Regions from separate parts of the Homo sapiens genome. Here all the other regions are linked to region 1. The links are contacts of gene promoters, found by promoter capture Hi-C in human tissues and cell types (Jung and others, 2019). All regions are on one chromosome and are shown on one strand. The core of a region is centred on a gene start or on the middle of the fragment in contact, and the rest is flanking DNA. Distances in the headings are between cores, read along the strand shown.

What was found. The method cuts DNA at HindIII sites, captures the fragments that hold promoters and counts their contacts. A contact is called where the count stands out against the background at its distance.
Region 2: a contact is called between a fragment that was not itself captured here and the fragment with the promoter of HAO2 in region 1, in 1 of the 25 tissues and cell types used here (thymus).
Region 3: a fragment that was not itself captured here is called in contact with the fragment with the promoter of HAO2 in region 1 in 1 of the 25 tissues and cell types used here (aorta).
Region 4: a fragment that was not itself captured here is called in contact with the fragment with the promoter of HAO2 in region 1 in 1 of the 25 tissues and cell types used here (pancreas).

The regions. Positions count from the first base shown.
Region 1 is chr1:119,367,521-119,370,538 of GRCh38, reverse strand. It overlaps HAO2 (hydroxyacid oxidase 2), which reads right to left and starts at 1,754. Exons shown (of 8, transcript NM_016527.4): 1 at 1,637-1,754. It overlaps HAO2-IT1 (HAO2 intronic transcript 1), which reads right to left and starts at 1,593. Exons shown (of 2, transcript NR_046780.1): 1 at 1,531-1,593; 2 at 208-455. The HindIII fragment of the contact is 9,840 bases long and covers 930-3,018 here.
Region 2 is chr1:119,234,398-119,237,432 of GRCh38, reverse strand. All of the region lies in intron 4 of WARS2-AS1 (WARS2 antisense RNA 1), which reads right to left. Among named protein-coding and RNA genes, the nearest start is that of LINC01780, 92 kb to the left of the region's middle. The HindIII fragment of the contact is 3,453 bases long and covers 1-3,035 here.
Region 3 is chr1:119,595,797-119,598,569 of GRCh38, reverse strand. LINC00622 (long intergenic non-protein coding RNA 622) reads left to right here. Exons shown (of 1, transcript NR_036540.1): 1 at 1-868. It also overlaps the pseudogene GAPDHP33. Among named protein-coding and RNA genes, the nearest start is that of LINC00622, 2.1 kb to the left of the region's middle. The HindIII fragment of the contact is 4,404 bases long and covers 1-2,773 here.
Region 4 is chr1:119,128,683-119,131,652 of GRCh38, reverse strand. The region is part of intron 1 of WARS2 (tryptophanyl tRNA synthetase 2, mitochondrial); the gene reads left to right. Among named protein-coding and RNA genes, the nearest start is that of WARS2-AS1, 10 kb to the left of the region's middle. The HindIII fragment of the contact is 4,877 bases long and covers 1-2,970 here.

The DNA of each region.
Region 1 (3,018 bases), core at 505-3,004:
AGGACTAAGCAGTATGGCCCCTTTGAAATTTCTAGAACAGTGCCTTGTATAGACTAGATTGTTAATAAAGGCAGCTCCATGTTCATTATTCCTCCTGTTGATGACATGTGTGATTTCATCTGAGGCTCTGGAAGTGGAAAGCTGCTTCAGGATTTGAGTATTTCTGTCATAGTATAATTTAAACCCTCTGTCAGATTTACTCATTAGTTTATCCAAGAAGGTTTATTGACACACACTCTCAGCCAGGGTGGCGGAGGCATATACTGCTCCCCACATGCTTAACATTTCGCTGTTGCTTAAATACAGGCATGGCTCTGTGACTAGTTCTTCTGGCCAATGGCCTGGGAGTGGGAATAGCAGGTGTGAATTCTAGGCCAAGGATTGAAGAGCTGGTATGTGACCCTCCAGCTTTGTTTCCTCCTCTACAGCGATCCTCCATCCTCAAGAAGGCAAAGCTGTAAGAGAAAGGCCACTTGGATTCCCAAAACGCCATTTGGAAAAGGGTAGCCCTGGAGATCAGCTGATATTGTGTAAGGAAGAAATAAATATTTATGTGTTATCTCACTAAGTTGTTAAGGTTTATTCTTTACTATAACATAGCCTGATTTAACATAATATATCAAAGTATTATGCTAAACACTAGAGATATGGGGGGGGACCTTTATCACATCAGTTTCTGCTCTCAAGAAGCTTACAGTCGAAGAAGACAGACTTTCATAGCTCATCATTTGATAGCTGATACGATTTAGAGTACAACAGGAGTCCCTTTGAGGGGAGAGTTACCTGGGAATTTGGCAATATTCCCATTACCTCTCAAATGATATACCACAAGTGATGTTCCACTCAATCTATTCTAGACAAGCTCCAATTCTCATCTATCTTTAAATTAGGTTATTACTGTCTATCTCATAGGGATCTTGTGAGAATTGAAGGATCTTGTAAAATGCAGAATATAGTAGTAGTTAAGAATAAAAGTTTGCGGATTTTGCTTCCTGCTAATGGACGCTTTATTCTGTTCCATTGATCTGTTATCTATCTTTATACCAGTACCTCCCTGTCTTCATTAGCGTTCTTGGCAGTTCTCCGCAGGTTGATCTGTAGATTCAACTTAACACAATCAGAGGCTCTTCATTAGTGGGACTTTGTAACCCATTTGTTCCAAATAAGCTTATTGCTCAAAGGAACTACATTGTTTGAGACACATTAACTTCTTTACTTTTTTAGGAGCATAGCCATGTCACTGTTTTCTTTTGCTTGTGGCCGGGAAGCAGTGGTCAGAATACTAAATATATCCCTGAAGGCAATAGCAATACCTTTTAGGTTTTCAGAACGCTGTCAAGTGAAAACATTTTAACCCATTTTTCCTCCTATGGACACCCACGAATATTCCACCATACAATTCTAAGACTCAACTTCCTAGACTTAACCTTCTCTGTCTGTATCCTTTTTGAAACCAAATCTTCCTTTGCCCATGCCCTCTGAGTTCCCTAACACCTGTCTCCCTAGGACCATCTTTGCCAAGGTCCTTGCCTTGCAAACTCATAGTTGGCTTCCACGATATCTTCCATTCCCATCCTATCTGGCACTTCATCACCCTTCTCAGTTCCAAGCACACAGAACACACTCAATGACAAACCTTATTCTAATGTCTTCCAGTCCTCAGGGAAAGAAGTGTTTAGACGCAGCCACTCAAAGCCTGGCTCACTGCCGGAGGTGTTAGGAAACACACCACATCACTACCCACAGTTCAGGCTAAAGAAGAGGCTGAAGTCTCAAAGTTAATCTTTTAATGAAAACATCCAGCTTAGCAGTAAATAAGCAACTAGGCCAGAGCAAGGTTGACTTTGAAAGAATTTTGCTGACTTTGCAAATTTACTTCAAAATTAAGTGAAGTTTATTACAAAATTAAACTTCAAAGTGAAGTTGTAATTTCCTACCTGAAATCACCCATTCCCTACCTCTAAATTCAAACTTGATGTTGTCCTCTGCTCATCACAGATTGTTAGAGGTAGGGAGTGGATGATTTCAGGTAGGAAATTACAAAAGTCCCCGGGTTGGAGGAGGGGCTTTTTGTGGTGATGGGGTTGGGGTGGGAGAAGAGCAAGCACAGCCTGGGAGCCCATGGGCAGGACAGCAGTGGGGACCCAGGCCAGGACGGTCCGAGCTTTGGGGATTTTGGAGGGTGCATAGTGTAGAGCCCTCCCTGCCCACAGAACTGTTCTGGGGAAGTAATTATGTCTAGATTAATATGGGAGTCAGGGAGAACCAGTGAAATTTTTGAGTGGAAAATTATTCAGGAATGTAGAAGAAATGCTAGGAAAAGCAAACTTAAAAGTACATGGAAAAATAGAATTAATTTCTCCAGAAGAGTTCTGTAGGGGTCCCAGAAAGGTCACTAATTTGTCCAGGTCTGTTCGTCTCCACTCCTCCCCCAGCTCTTGCCACTGCTCCTTAGTATTGCCACAGCTCACGTGTGTGATGCGCTTACGACGTGCCAGACACACTACACGCATTACTTCATTTGATCTTCACGGAAGGTCAATCTTTTCAAGATTGTCTCTTTTTCAGAAGAGAAAATGAGATTAACGAACATGCCCAAAGCCTTTCAGCAGTAAAGAGCAGAATTGGGATTTGAACCTAGCCTGTAGCCAACACACGGAGCAGAGGAGGCCGAAATCCTGAGCTGTACCGATGACCATAGCAGTGGGGTTTGCCTTTCCTTTAGAACCTGTAGTTAGAGAGCAAAATGATGAATTTACCACTGACTTGTCATACCATCTCCACTCAAGGCTCATTGGCTATTTATTTGGAGGGTAATCCCTACCTGCTATCTAGCCACTAGAGGACAGTATTACCTCAAAAATGCTTTCAAAAGTAGCCAAAATCTGGGTTCTGGAAATTTCTTTTCCATAGCAATTTTCACAATCTCCATAATCAGCCTCTAGGCCATGTCCTCGGTCAGCTCTCACAACACCTGGCCTGCTCACAGTCCCCTGATCCAGACCCTCCCTTGCTGTT
Region 2 (3,035 bases), core at 305-2,804, 130 kb after region 1:
TTACAAGGAACAATCACTCTTCCAATCTCTGATCCATGAATTTATCTTGGTATAGGGGATGAAGGGATAAAGTTAACTTTATAGTGGAAGAATTTCATTTAGGAAAGCAGCAGACTTTAAATCACAGAGCCCAGGTTTGATGCCCCCCATTTTAGTGTAAGTATTAATTATTTGAGAGATCCTACGGTGAGGTGGAAAGACTTCAGTATTAGACAGCATTGTGCCTTACTGCTTTGCCACTTCTTGTGACCTTCAGCAAACCTCCTAACCACCTTGAACTTTTTTGTCTGTAGAGAGTAATAATGTTTACTTCATAGGGTGGTTGCAAGAATTAAGTGAGATTATATATATATATCTATCTCATATATACATATATCATATATATCATATATGTATGAGAAACTTGCGAATCATCCCGTAACTCAGCTCTCCCTAGAGAATCACTCATGGCCGACCTAGACATGTTTGCTTGTCAGTGAAATGAAGCTCATTGATGAAATAAAGTGAGTTCTGAAACAGGTCCTTCCATGGGTAGCTGTCTGCACTGGCATGCAGAGTGGGCTGTGGCTGACTTCCTGAGCTTAGGCTTTGAGGGGTGCTGTGGATGGCTGGAGAGATTCTCTGTGTGCTGGACAACTCCAGAGGTGCCTTGAGAACGTTGCAGAGATGTACACAGCAGAAGCAATGGAGACTTGAAATCAGTGTTGACAAGCTTGGTCCTTACCCTTTCTTATTTCCTTCATCTTCTACCAGCTCACAAGGAACTCAGGCTCAATGTTACCTCTAGTTTCAGTATAGATACTGAAAAAAATAAGTATGCAGGCAAACAATTCAATCCTTCTCAGTTAAGTCTTTTCTTCCTTAAAGTGGAGATATTACCATGGCAAATCTGAAGGGCAAATGAGATGTTGCATTTGAACGTGCCTAGCATAATATCCAAGAGGAGTGGACACATTGTTGAGTTTCCTTTGGGAACCTCTGTAAAGCTATCTCCCTATAGGGCAGCAGTAAGTCAACCATGCCAGAAAATGTTTCAGCTGCCTGGTAACCATCTAGTCTATGATTAACGGAGACATCAAAATAGCCATCATCTCCTACTCCTAACCAACAAGTCTCTGACACAGAAAGAAAGACAAAATATCCATTTTCCTAACTTAACTCCCATCCCTCAAGGTTGGAAAAAGGGAAAACTTAGATCCAGTCACCAATACCCAATTTGCCTTATATGACAATACATGACATGTCATGTATTTCTACAATACCTTATTTGCCTTAGATGACTTGTCATTTATTTCTACAATACCTTATTTGCCTTAGATGACATGTCATTTATTTCTACATGGCAGCCAACAAATGATTGCCAGGAACACTGGTGACTGTGGATCTGGGCAGAGGGGTCTGCCAGAGAAAGTAAACCATTTATTTACTCAGTATCTACTGAGCTGTTGTAAGTCCTTGTGTAACCTTATCTTCACAACAAGCCTATGAAATGGGTGGTATTATAATCATTTTGCAGATGAGGAAACCAAGACTCAGAAAGATTAAGTCGAGGTACAGCATACTAGGTGGCAGCTACCTCCCCCTTTTCCATCTTGCTTTTAATTTAGTTTTTCAACACATATTCCTATCATCTTGATTGCTTTATAGACCAACAATCCTTTAATCTACCCTAAAGAAGAAGCAGTATAGACCTGATTTCCATCTTTGAATCAGTCTGTCCAATTTCATCCAATTTCAAGCTAAGTGCAAGTTAAATTCAGTGTGTGTAGCATTAAATTCTACTGTCTACTAAAATATTAAACCTTGTTATTCTAGTAAGTACTGTCAAGCCCACATTGATGAGATAGTGAATAGTAAAGGTGGCATTATTGTAATTTTTAAGTTAAAGCCTGATTTGTTTGCTCATTTTTTAAAAAGCAAATTCTCATATAGTATGAACCAGTCCCTGAATTTTTTTAAACAATTATGTTTTTAAAAGTGAAATGAATGGAAATATGCTGTTTCCTGCTGTTTTCCCCACTCCTTTGCTCTCTTTCCCACCCCGTGTGCATATATTATACATTTCTTTCTTCCAGAGATGCTCACAGCTGTTTCTCTTCCTCTCTCTTGAGCTCTCTAGGCAGCTTTCATTCTTTCACTTAAGCATGCTTGGAGCCTCATGGAAACTCCCCCACAGTATGATTGCTTCCACACTTTCATATGCTTTAAGGAATATCAGCTGAGAACTGCTTATTGATCCCAAGTGGGGAATCCTCTCTTACAAAGCCGTTGGCCATTGATGAAGAAATGTTAAGGCATCCTTGTCCTTGTCCTTGTCCACTTCCAGTTCCTCATGCTGATGCCTCCCAAACTAGGCCCACCCTCAGCTCAGAGCCTCCTTTTCTAAATATTTCTGGTGGAGCTGCTTTTTCTATTTCTCAGACTCTGATCAATGGAACCACTTGGTCATTCTAGTTTTAAATTAGATTGCTATCCAGTTTAGGGATTTTATTTTGAAATCCAAATATGGAAAAGAGTTAGTTGCTCCCCAAGTGCTTAAAGTCTTAAGAGACAAGGTTTCCATCTGCTCAGGTAGCATCACCGGCTCATGTCTTCTTCCACCCACCAAGCAGCAGGAACACTGAGTGGCTGGGCCAGGGTATAGCAGGCAGACGTCGCAGATCATGCTATTCTTGTTTGGCAGAGCCAGCTTTACTGTAGCCTTGTCAGTGCTCAGTACTGCAGGAAGAAATGAAGGAAGGAGCCAGCATGTTTGGAGTGCTTGTTTTGCTCTAGGAAGTATCCACAACCTCTTGAGAAGATTCAATCCCACAATCCTAGAAAGTGAAGACTTTCCAAGGACCTCTCTCCTACCATCACTGTTTTACCAATGAGAAAATTGAGCCCCAAAAGTTGAATGGTTTGCCCAAGCCCACACAGCACATAAGTAAAAGTGACAGATGGCAGCCTAGCCCTCTGACTCCTAATTCAGTGCATTTTGCATTTCTCCACAGCTGGCAGGTGTTCCACATACTAAAAGCTCACATTGGAAATGA
Region 3 (2,773 bases), core at 127-2,626, 230 kb before region 1:
TTTTAGACTTGTGTGACCATCACCATGATCCTGTTTTGCAACATTTCTATCATTCCTAAGAAATCCCCTATGTTCATCAGTCACCACCACTTTTTCCCAGTCCCCAGCTCCAGGCAACCTCTAATTGACTTTCTGACTCTACAGATTTGCCTTTTCTGGAGACCATATAAATGAAATCATGCAATATGTGGTCTTTTGTATCTGTCTTCTTTCATTTACTTTAATATACTTTTATGGTTCATGTATGTGGCAGCACATATCAATATTTTAATCCTGTTAGGGGACAAATCCTATTAAATTGTATGGATAGCTCCCATTAGTTTATTCATTTATCAGTTGATACATATTTGAGTGTTTCTACTTTATGGACAATTATGGATAAAGTTGCTATGAATATTCACATTCATGTGTTGTGTGGACATAGGTTTTTTTCTTCTGGGTAGATAGCTAGAAGTGATAGTGCTAGGTCATATGGTAAATATATCTTCAACATTTTAAGATACTGCCAAACTGGTTTCCAACGTGACTGCATGTCCCATCAACAATGCGTGAGTGTTTTAGTTTTTCCACGTCATTATTTCACTTCCCCCAGGTGTTACTGTCCTTTTTTATTATAGCATTCTAGTGGGTAAGAAGTGGTGTCTCACTGTAGTTTTGATTTGCATGTCCCTGCTGACTGATGATGCTGACCATCTTTTCATGTATTTTATTGTCTATTCCTACACCTTTTTGATGAAATGGTTATTCAAATATTTTGCCTATTTTAAAATTGGGTTATTTATCTTTTTGTTGCGTAGTTGTAAGTGTATTTCATATTCTGGATATGAGTCCTGTATTAAATATATGATTTGAATTTTTTTTCTCAGTCTCTGGTTTATCTCTTCATTTTCTTATTGGTGGCTTTTAAATGCCAACATTTTTAGTTTTGATCCTGTTTCATTTTTCAACTATTTTTTAACCAGGAAAAGTTGGGTTTTTGCCTAATTCAAGATCATGAATATAATAATCTATGTTTTCTTCTAAGAGGTGTATAGTTTAGCCCTTAAATTTAGGCCTTTATTTTATTTTGAGGGAAGTTTTGCCTATGTGTGGGTTAATGGCCTAAATTCATATGGCCAATTGATTTTGACAATAGCAAATTCAATAGGGAAAAAGATTGTCTTTTAAACAAGTGACACTGAGACAACTGAATTGTCCACATGCTCAGGGAATGTCAGCCTGCTATGTCAAGTGGTGCCCACCCGAGTCACCACCTATTGACATCAGAGTGTGTGAAGAATTTCTCAATATGATAACTATGGGTTAAATAATATGCTGTAGCTTTCTGCTCCTCCCATTCGACAGATAGCCGCATCTTCTTGTGCAGCGCCAGCCGCATCCCTGAGACACCATGGTAAGGGTGAAGGCCAGAGTCAATGGATTTGGCCCCATTGGTTGCCTGGTTACCAAGGCTACTTATAACTGGTAAAGTGGATATTGTCACCATCAATGACCCCTTCATAGTCTACAAATTCCATACTACATGGTCTATGTATTCCAGTATGATTCCACCCGTGGTGAATTCCATGGCACCGTAAAGGCTGAGAACAGGAAGCTTGTCATCAATGGAAATCCCACCACGATCTTCCAAAAGCTAAATCCCACCAAAATCAAATAGGACAATGCTGGCACCAAGTACATCATAGACTCCAGTGTCGTCTTCACTACCATGGAGAAGTGTGTGGCTCATTTGTAGGGGCCAGTTAAATGGATCATCATCTCTAACCCCTCTGCTGACAGCCCCATGTTTGTGATGGGTATGAACCATGAGAAATATAACAACAGCCTCAAGATCATCAACAGTGTTTCTTGTACCACCAACTGCTTAGCATCTCTGGCCAAGATCATCCATGACAACTCCGATTTAGTGGAAGGACTCATGACCACAGTAAATGCTATGATTGCCACCCAGAAGACTGTGGACGGCCCCTCTGTGAAACTGTGGCATGACAGCTGCAGGGCTCAAAGGAACATCATCCTTGCATCTACTGGCACTCTCAAGGCTGTGGGCAAGTATATCAATGAGCTGCATGGGAAGATCACTAGCATGGCATTCCAGGTCCCCACCACGAACATGTTGGTCATGAACCTGACCTGCCCTCAGGAAAAGCATGCCAAATATGATAACATCAAGCAGGTGGTGAAGCAGCATCAGAAGGCCCCCATAAGGGCATCCTGTGCAACACTGAGAACCAGGTTGCCTCCTCCAGCTTAACCATTGACACCCACTCTTCCACCTTCAATCCTGGGACTGGCATTGCCCTCAGTGACCACTTTGTTAAGCTCATTTTCTCATATGATAATGAATTTGGGTACAGCAACAGGATGGTGAACCTCATGGCTCACATAGCCTCCAAGGAGTAAGACCTCTGGGCCACCAGCCCCGCGAGAGCATGAGAGGAAAAGAGAGGCCCTCAGCTGCTGGGGAGTCCCTGCCACACTCAGTCCCCCACCACACTGAGATTCTCCCCTCCATGCAGTTTCCATGCAGACCCCCTGAAGAGGGAGGGGCCTAGGGAACCCCACCTTGTCGTGTACCACCAATAAAGTCCCCTGTCTATGCTCAGAAAAAAAAAAGCGGTATTAGGAAAGCTCACAAAGATTACTGATCAGCAAAAAAATAGACAGCATGATTTCTCCATCCTCCTATTTAATACTGATGCATAAATGGTCAGGAAATGCTGGGCTCACAATGGGAGTCTGCATTCCAGTGTAGGAACAATAGTCTCCCTTG
Region 4 (2,970 bases), core at 231-2,730, 240 kb after region 1:
CATCTCTACTAAAAACAAACAAATTAGCCGGGCGTGGTGGCGGGCGCCTGCAGTCCCAGCTACTCGGGAGGCTGAGGCAGGAGAATGATGTGAACCCGGGAGGCGGAGCTTGCAGTGAGCCGAGATCGCGCCACTGCACTCCAGCCTGGGTGACACGAGTGAGACTACGTCTCAAAAAAAAAAAAAACAAAAAACAAAAAACTTTGCACAGTCCGGATCCAAAATACCTCTCTAGACCATTGCTATCTTACATAGATCCTTTGCCCTAGAGTTCACAAAATTTCCAAGTTTCCTCGGAGCTACTCCCTTTTACTTCCTTATTAATGCCATTACCTCTTCTTGGAAAGGCCTTTCTTCCTATCCTTATCTGTCTGTACTCTATCATTCTTTAAAAACAAAACAGAAATATGTACAGCTTTTTGCAATGTCAATTATACCACAATAAAGTGTTTTAAAACAAACAGCAACAACCAAAAAACCTCAGATATCGGTTCCAAAAACTTTGTTCTTAAGCTGGAAATGATTGCTTCCATTTTGAAATTTTATAGGACATTGTATCTCTCTTATAGAAAAAAATACATCCTTTATATTCTGTCTCTGTTTTTAGACATTTGCTTTAAGATAGATGGAAGAGCATGCTCTTTTTCATTTAGACCTTTTGTGAATACCTCAGCAGAAAACAGTTTAGTATGCACCATACCACAGGTGCAGCATAAGCTGCTACTCAACAGGCAGACCTCACCAGGCAGTATGTTTCTAGAGGCCACCACCAGTCATGAAAGACAGGAAGATTTGCCTGTTGAGCCGTGGCTGTGATAACTATGTGTGTGAGAAAATGAGTTATTATAATAAAGATTTAATTCTTAAATCTTTGGCATAATAACTCCTGTTACAGAAGGAGCTCAATAAGTATTTAATGAGTGAATGAATTCAGTGAAAAAAAATCAGTGAGACAACACATGAGACAGTGCATAGCATTGTCATCAAGGAGATTGTTGAACTTAAACCATACATTTTTGTGTGCATTTTTATTTATTTAATTACAAAAGTTGTGTAATGTTTGTTGCAGTTAATAAGTGATCTTATTATTGCCCAAAGTATCCACATGTTTATAAATGATTGGAAGGTCATACCAATTTTATTTCAACAATTTTCTGAGAGGGTATGAATTTCAAACTTGTCGCTTAACTGACTTTTATTGTCACTCTGGCCCTAATTGTATTTTTCACAGGTACCACTAATTATACTAGGATTTGCCACCTCTTTATATTATACTGAGGTTTGTTACATCTGTATATAGAAAAGTGTAGACATACTCAAGATTGAGATGAAAAGATTTTATTTTGAGTATGGTTTTGTCTCAAAGGACTGTCTAGTTCAATAAGTGTGCCATATTATCTATACAACAACTGATGTGGTTTTTGCTTTTATAATCAAGAGTATGCTTTCTTCAACTTATAAAGGAAATAAAAAGCTCATTTATTGTATTGACATTGCCTTTTTTTTTTTCTCATTTACCCACCTTAAGTCCCATTTAAGCAACCTGTCAAACCATGCCTAGCACTTTTGCTCTGTAGATCTTGGTATGCCCTGCATAGATGGAGAGAACAGCCCTAGGTCTCACTGCACCGTTACACGATGTAGACAGGCCATTTGTAAGCTAATGCAACTTCATTTTTCTTTGCACCTTGATAAATGCAGAGAAATGTGATTCAAGCAGATTTTATATCTATATAGCCAAGGTTGTGCAAAGAATTTATATTTTCTTCTTTTAAAGTGGCCAGTGATATTATAGTAGTTGGTCAGGAAAGCTTTATTGCAATGCTTGCTTACCAAATTGTCATTACATGTTTAATAAAACCTTTAATTGTGCTATATCATATCTGTTAGAGAGAATGGGATTTATTTTATTTTATTTTTTTTTTATTTTTATTTTTTGAGATAGAGTATCACTCTGTTGCCCAGGCTGGAGTGCAGTGGTGCAGTCATAGCTCACTGCAGCCTTGATGTCCTGGACTCAAGCGATCCTCCTTGTGATACTCAGCTTCCTGCGTAGCTGGGGCTACAGGCACAAACCACCACATTTGGCTGATTTTTTTGTTTTTTATTAAACACAAGGTCTCACTATGCTGTCCAGTCTGATCTCGAACTCCTGGGCTCAAATGGTGTTCCTGCCTCAGCCTCCCAAAGTGTTGAGATTACAGGTGTGAACCACTCTGCCTGGCCAAGAGGACGGGTTTGATTGTGGCATCTTTCTGGTAAATCTATGTCTAACTGTATTCAAGCTGCTATAACAATATACCATAGACTGGGTATCATAAACAACAGACATTTATTTGTCACAGTTCTGGAGGCTGGGAAGTCCAAGATCAAGGTGCTGACACATCCACGTCTGGTGAGGGCTTCCTTCCTAGTTCATTCTCTGAGATCTCTTTTATGAGGGCACTGATCACCTCCCAAAAGCCGCACCTCCTAATGCCATTACATTGGGAATTAGGTTCCAAAATATGAATTTTGGGAGGACACAAACATTCTCTTGCAGTCTGTGACTACAGTGGCCAGACATCTTGTAAAATCCAGAACCAGTTATACTTTATAACCATAAATCTTTAAAGTGTCTTTGAAATTTCAGTGTTTCAGCATCCACATGACATCTCCTGCACCATTTCTAACATTCTAAAATAGAACAAAACTTCTTTAGCAGACCATATTTCCTTAATTTTGATTGAGAATATATGAACATATCTATGACTAAAATAGAGACACAGCTTGCCCTCTTGTCTTTCTTTTCCATCTAACTAGCAGGGTTTTTGGTCAGGCTTCCATGACACCTGTCTTTTTGAAAGTCAGATGCTTACCAACCATGTGGATATAAAGTCAGCCAGTTTCCATTTTGACCACAAGTTAGAAGGAATGGGGAACGAGAGGGGTGGCTCTTCAAAAAGGAGTAACAAAGCCATGACCACTGAT